Regions from separate parts of the Homo sapiens genome. Here region 2 is linked to region 1. Evidence: promoter capture Hi-C in 16 types of primary human blood cells and fetal thymus (Javierre and others, 2016). All regions are on one chromosome and are shown on one strand. Each heading gives the region's core, a stretch centred on a gene start or on the middle of the fragment in contact. The rest is flanking DNA. Distances are from core to core; before and after follow the strand shown.

Region 1 (3,388 bases), core at 594-3,093:
AGGTCTTTCCCGTGCTGTTCTTGTGAAGTGAGTAAGTCTCATGAGATCTGATGGTTTTAAAAATGGGAGTTTCCTTGCACAAGCTCTCTCTTTGCCTGCTGCCATCCAGGAAAGATGTGACTTGCTCCTCCTTGCCTTTCACCATGATTGTGAGACCTCCCCAGCCACATGGAACTGTAAGTCCGTTAAACCTCTTTCTTTTGTAAATTGCCCTGTCTTTATCAGCAGCATGAAAACGGACTAATACATGATACAAAGGAGGGATTATACGTATGGATCCAACATCGACCTAGAATGTGAGGAAAGACACAATCCTAAGCAAGTAATGACAAACAAAAACAACAGGATGCTATTGAGATGGAGCAGGAACCCATCTTAGGAGCCTGTGGAGCACCCCTAAGCATGGAAATAAAGGAAAATCTTGAGTTCCTTCAAGGGAAATTCCAGGTACCTAGCTAGCCCTAAGAAGTAAATAAGTAACTTGATAAGCAAGAAGGTAATTATAGCTTAAAACAATAACCAAGGAAGTTAGATTCCCTATAGAAACGAAAGATAACATCTTAACATATGTCCCTGAATTGTTTCTCAGAAACCCAGACCCCCAACAAAACAGATCCACTGGCATGCAGACCTCAGACAAGGGGGAAATGAGGACGGAACTGACCACCATTCTTTCTTCTAAATTTCTTCCTGAAGGGCAAGGAGGAAGTCACACCCACGAGCCAGAGCTAACATTCATTTTTGCTGACCCCAAATTTTTAACAAAGCTTCTCTTCCTTCACTGATGGCAAGTCAGAAAATCTTTGAATGTATAACCTATAAGCACCCTCACTTTAAAGATTTTCAAGATATCCCAGCTTGTTAGACCAAACCAATGTGCAACCTCCGTGTATTATGATTTTGCCTGTAACTTCTGCTTTCTTGAAATTAACCCTGCGTTTAAAAATCCTTACTTGCAAGCCAACTGAAGGTCAGGATTTAAGCAAGAGCTGCCCCATTCTCCTTGCCTGGAGCTCTGCAGATAAGCGCCCTCTTTTCTCCCAGTGCAAACCTTAGTGCGGATGGCTTGGCCTTACTGCACCAGAAGAACGGACCTCAGTTTTTAGGTAACACTGTGCCCCAGACATCTGGCCACTTTATGTCTGAAAGGGCCAATGTGGTGATGGGGGCTGGGGGACGCCTCAAGGCTGGCGGAGCCTGGTGCCTTTCTAGAATTTGGTGGGTGCAGGACGGGTGAGGGGCGGAGGCAGAGGATCAGGAGAAGAAAAAGAGATAGTGGCTGCTGGCCCCAACATTTTGAAGCAAAGAACAAGAGGAGTATTTTACGAAGATTGGCGGATGGTGTATTGTGTTGATGCCTTAACTGCAGTCGACGAAATCTCCAGGAAGGATCCTCCTCCCGTTCATTCTCGACGGTGGCGCATCCACTTTCGGAAGGCCGGGCCTCGAAGGGTGGGCGCGCGGGGCAGGAGCAGGACCACCCCGATGCCCCCATTCCTTCCCGGGAGGCGGGGCCCACAGGCCTGGGGTGCGGCAAGGCAGGAGCCAGTGCCGTGAAGGGCAACCCAGGGCTGGTCTCCCGCCAACCTGTCTGCAGCCCGAGCACCTGGGCCAGGGGCGGAGACCGGACCAAGGAGGCACCGGGCGCGGCGAACACCCCCGGGGCCCCTCCCCGAGCGGGGCCCCGCGTCCCACCGCAAACCAGGGGAGCTTGGGCACCACCTGGCTGGCACCGCCGGGCCCGGCCGGAGGGGGGCGCAGGAGGGCGGCGCGGGGGCAGGTGCGGGGCGGGGCACGGGGGCGGGACCACACAGGGCCGCGGCAGCCGCGCCCGCTGGGCCACAGAGGCCGCTGAGGCCGCGGCGCCCGCCAGCCTGTCCCGCGCCATGGCCCCGCGCGCCCGGCGGCGCCGCCCGCTGTTCGCGCTGCTGCTGCTCTGCGCGCTGCTCGCCCGGCTGCAGGTAAGGAGCGCCCGCGCCTGCCGGGCCGCGCGGCCCGACGCCTCCTCGGGAGCCCCGGGAAGGGCCGGGGCCGGCGGCATCCTGGCTCCTCCGCCTTCCGAGAGGAGCCGGAGTTTTGGGGAGCGGAGGCCGTGGGAAGCTGGGGAGGCGCTTCCAGAGTTGGACGGCGGAGGGCGGGAAAGGGCAAGCGGAGGGAAACTGGGGCGCAGAAGGAGCAGGTTGGCGGGACCGCAACACCCGAAACGGGCTCTTCCAAAAGCCCCTCTTAGCCGCAGGCTTTGATGCTGTCATTTTCTCCAAATGCTTCTTGAGCACCTACTAAGCGCTTGCGCCGGGCGGTGCCGCGGGAGACAGCGCCGTGGGCACCTCACTTGCGGCAGATAACCGTTCCCGATACGATTTCTCCCGGGTGGCCTCCGTCCCAAATTTCCACCCGGAAAGAGACATGATTCCCTCCGTCCCTGAACTGCGGGCTTGCCTTTGCCTCCCCTGAGCCCCTTCGGGGACACCCCTGCCAGCTCGCCTGGAGGCCCCGCACGGCGGGGAGAGACTGCGCGCGCGCCCCGGGGATGCTGGACTTGACCCTCGCAGACCCGAGTGGCTTCCCGGTCCTCTCGGAACAGGTTTCTCAGTACAGTTAGCAAGCGAATGCAGCCAGGCACGGACTTTCTGCCTCGTGGAGGAGGGCCGCAGAGGGAAGCACACCCAGCACAACAAACGCTTTAAAAATCGTTGATACGAACTTGAAAGCTCTCACAGGGAAGGGCGAGTGGTGGTTTTCTTGGTTTCGGCTGGGTCAGATTTCCCCTCTGTTAACACTAGGTTAGGCTGCTGCCGTCCCTCCGCAGCCGGGCACGGAACCCGGAGAGGCGTGGGGAGGGACGCATGGAGAATCGTGTTTGGGTGAGAAGAGAGGGGAAAAGCCTTGACAGAAATAATGTGGGTGCACTGAAGGCTGAAGCAAAAGATTCTAGGGAAGATTCATTCCCAATTGTATGGGTCTGTCAGTATGGTTGAGGGAAACGAAGGCGGAAAAGTCTAAAGGATTTTTTCATTTTAAGCACTTCAGGTGTTGCTTAATTAAGTGTTCAACAGGTTGAACGGGGTGCTACCTTATTTGAACCAAAGGACCAGGGTTTCAGCGAACAGCTAGCCACCTAAGAAAAACCTGCCTGACCACGCAGTTGCAAAATTATCTCTCACTGCTGTCGCAAAATGACATATTCATATGTGCATAAAAGGCGTTCGGTTCTAATATGAACAACAAATGCTATCAAAATAAGTTTATTTTTCAGGGAGACCTTTCAACAAATGCTGTTTCCCGTCTTTTTGCCTTTAAGCCCCTTTCATTATGCATGTTTAAAAATGTAAACTTTTGCATTGGTCATTTCCAATTCTAGGGGAGCGAACCTTCTAGGAACCTTATG
Region 2 (3,530 bases), core at 532-3,031, 92 kb after region 1:
TGGACACAAGGTTGGTGACCCAAGAAGAGTGCTGAATTTTTGCTGCACATGTTTAAAAATGCAGAGAGCAATGCTGAACTTAAGGGTTGAGATGTAGACTCTCTGGTCATTGAGCATATCCAAGTGGACAAAGCATCTAAGATGTGTTACCAGACCTACAGAGCTCATGGTTAGATTAAGCCATACGTGAGCATTCCCTGCCACATCGAGATGATCCTTACTGAAAAGGAACAAATTATTCCTAAACCAAAAGAAGAGGTTGCCCAGAAGAAAAAGATGTCCCAGAAGAAACTGAAGAAACAAAAACTTATGGCACAGGAGTAAATTCAGCATTAAAATAAATGCAGTTAAGGCCAGGCACAGTGGTTCACGCCCGTAATCCCAGCACTTTGGGAGGCCGAGGTGGGTGGATCACTTGAGGTCAGGAGTTTGAGACCAGCCTGGCCAACATGGTGAAACCCCTTCTCTATTAAAAATTAAAAAATTAGCTGGGCGTGGTGGTGCGTGCCTGTAATCCCAGCTACTCAGGAGGCTGAGGCAGGAGAATCGCTTGAACCTGGGAGACAGAGGTTGCAACGAGCCGAGATCGCGCCACTGCACTCCAGCCGGAGTGACAGAGTGAGACTCTGTCTCAAGACAATAAATGAATAAATGCAATTAAAAGTTTTAAAAAGTCCCAGATATCACATAATTTTATCTTTTAAAAAGCCTTTAGTTTATATCACTAAAGATAAGGCAATTTTTAAACATACTACAGTATCATCACATCTAAAAATATTAGTAATAATTCCTAGATACCATCAAATAAACAGAAAGTCTAGCTGTCATACCTGTACCCTCCTCTGTTGCCTCCCTCTCCCACAGTAATATTTTTTAGTTTTGATTTGTCCTTCAATTATTTTTTTATGTAAGCAAATAAATATAGTAAATATTTGTTGTTTTTTCCTTCACAGAGAAGAGGTAACCCATTATACACATTTTCTGCATCTGGATTGCACTTAAAAATTATTCTCACTTGACACCAATACATAGAAAACTTTGTTCTTTTTTTCAGCTACATAGTACTCCAACATGTGAAGGTACTTTATTCAACCATTACTCTGTTGATGGACATTTGGGCTATTCCCAGTTTTTTGCTCTTACTAGCAGTGTCATCATGAAAAGCCTTGTGTATATGAATTTCTTATTTTGAGAGCATCTTTGGAATAGATTCCTAGAAGTGGGATTGATGAGTCAAAAGGCAAATGCATATAATGTTGCTAGCTATTGTCAAACTCTCTTCTATAAAGATTATACCACTTAATATTGCCAGCAGAAATGAGTATGGTGTCCTTCTTTATGATTTTTTTGGCCCTCTGAGAAATGAGAAGTAGTATCTCAGTGAGGTTTCAATTTCCTTTTTTTTTTTTCTGTAATCTATATTTTGAGAACTTCATTCTAAGAGAACAAGACTCCTTTTGGACAGTAACACCATTGGAATTGTCAAAAAAGAAAAATCTTCCCTGGTTACATTATGTGTTGAATAAAGAAGTTTTTCTTGCAGATAGGCTTGAGTTGTCAAGTTTTCATTCAGAGCAGCTCAAGCATGGGGAGTTTATGAAAATGGAATCGTTGAAATTCATAGAATGAGAAGCCTCAAAGAGCTCTTTTTACCAGCATATTCCATTGAATACCTTTGGAGACATTCATACCCATCAAATACTCAGAGCATACTTTTTGAGAAGATTAAACCTAACTTAGAAGTTGGAGGTTCTTGGCACAATAAAGAAAAGCAATGCTTAACCCTGAAAGATTAACTGGGGAAAAACATGATACCTTCAGTCAAAACTTTATGGAACTTTTATTTTAAAAAACTTCATTTCACCCTACCCATGACCAAGTACCCCCCAAGAAATGTTTAGAACATATCATTTATATGAGCTGTTTGAATTTAAACACTGAATAAATGCTTGCAAAAGCATATATTTGTCCTAACTTCTATTTTATTTTTAAATCAACTTTGGCATTTTCACACTGTAAAGTGAGTTTTTTATGTGAGGGCTTGCTTTACAGAAATTTCAATATCCCATGTTTACAAAGAAGCACTCACTGAGGATTCAATTCTCTTGCAATTAATTTTCCCAAGTTGCCAGCTAGCAGGCTACCAATCTATGGAGCGTTCAACATTTAGGGATGAACTTTCATGGGCCCTGGGGATGCAAAGATTACTACTTTGTGGTTCCTCGGTAGAGGAGCTGAAAAGTAAACATGTAAATTAAAACAGCCTATGACATAGGACCAACCAGGGTGTGTTGTCATTGTTGACATGTATCTCTACCAGAAAAGTTCACTCTTCTTTATAAATGACAGCATTATTGAGCTGTTACCAACAGTAATTCACATGACCAATGGTGGACAACCAGGACTCCAAGATGGTGTCAGTTGCACCAGTGAAAGAGAGGAAAGTCATGGATGCCTAACTTGGGGAGCTGCCAAGCTGGCTATTGATGTGGGGTTTCACCCTGAAAGGCATGATTGGAGCATTTCAAAGAAGTTACTACCCGCATTAGAACAAGTGCCTCACAGGAAGGAAGGGAGCATTGCAGGGGTTTCTATAGCTGGCAGCTTACAGCTTTTCCTCTATGTTCTTTCTTACAAAGAGCTCAACTGTGAGCAACTCTGCAAGCATCACCTAAGAGGGGCCAGTGAAGGGTGCACTCTGCCCTTCTGACCATGACCTCCTTGGCCCATCACCCCTTTGTGAGAAACTCCATCACTGCTGAATCCTTTTATATCCTAATTGAGAACTAACGCCCAAACAGAAGATGACTGGTATGTGTAAAGAAATACAAATAATAAAATTCACATACCATATAATTCATCTCTTTAAAGTGCACAATTCAATGGGTTTTTTGTGTGTACATTCAGAGTTGTGCAACCATCACCACATTCAATTTTTAGAACAATTCATCACCCCCAAAAAGAAACTGTGCATCCACTCACAGTCACTCACTATTTCTTCCAACCTGCACCCCCCACCCCCAGCCCTGAGTGACCACTAATCTTTGCATTCTCCCTAGATTTACCTATCTGGGATATTTCATACAATGAAATGAAAATGAAATCATACAGTATGCAGTCGTGGTGACTGTCCTCTTTCATAATGTTTTTGAGGTTTGTCAATGCTGTACTATGTATCAGTATTTAATTCCTTTTTCTTTCCAAATCATAGTCCATTGTGGATATACTATGTTTTCTGTTGCTTACTGTTTGATATGGTTTGGATTTTTGTCCCCACACAAATCTCATGTTGAATTGGAGGACGGGCCTGGTGGGAGGTGACTGGATCATGGGGGCAGATTTCCCCCATGTTGTTCTCATGACAGTGAGTGAGTTGTCACAAGATCTGATGGTTTAAAAGTGTGTGACATATTGCGGCACTATTCACAATAGCAAAGACTTGGAAACAACCCAAATGTCCATCAATGATAGACTGGATTAAGAAAATGTGGCACATATACACCATGGAATACTATGCAGTCGTAAAAAAA

Evidence for each region. Contacts are between HindIII fragments. The CHiCAGO score rates a contact against its expected background, and 5 or more counts as called.
Region 2: a fragment that was not itself captured here is called in contact with the fragment with the promoter of TNFRSF11A in region 1 in 1 of 17 cell types (megakaryocytes); the score reaches 5.6 in megakaryocytes.

Annotation. Positions count from the first base shown.
Region 1 is chr18:62,323,467-62,326,854 of GRCh38, forward strand. It overlaps TNFRSF11A (TNF receptor superfamily member 11a), which reads left to right and starts at 1,844. Exons shown (of 10, transcript NM_003839.4): 1 at 1,844-1,961. The coding sequence starts at 1,887. RefSeq lists silencers at 1,476-1,685, 1,736-1,935. The HindIII fragment of the contact is 5,361 bases long and covers 766-3,388 here.
Region 2 is chr18:62,415,907-62,419,436 of GRCh38, forward strand. It overlaps the pseudogene RPL17P44. Among named protein-coding and RNA genes, the nearest start is that of TNFRSF11A, 92 kb to the left of the region's middle. RefSeq lists an enhancer at 2,479-2,528. The HindIII fragment of the contact is 6,401 bases long and covers 1-3,530 here.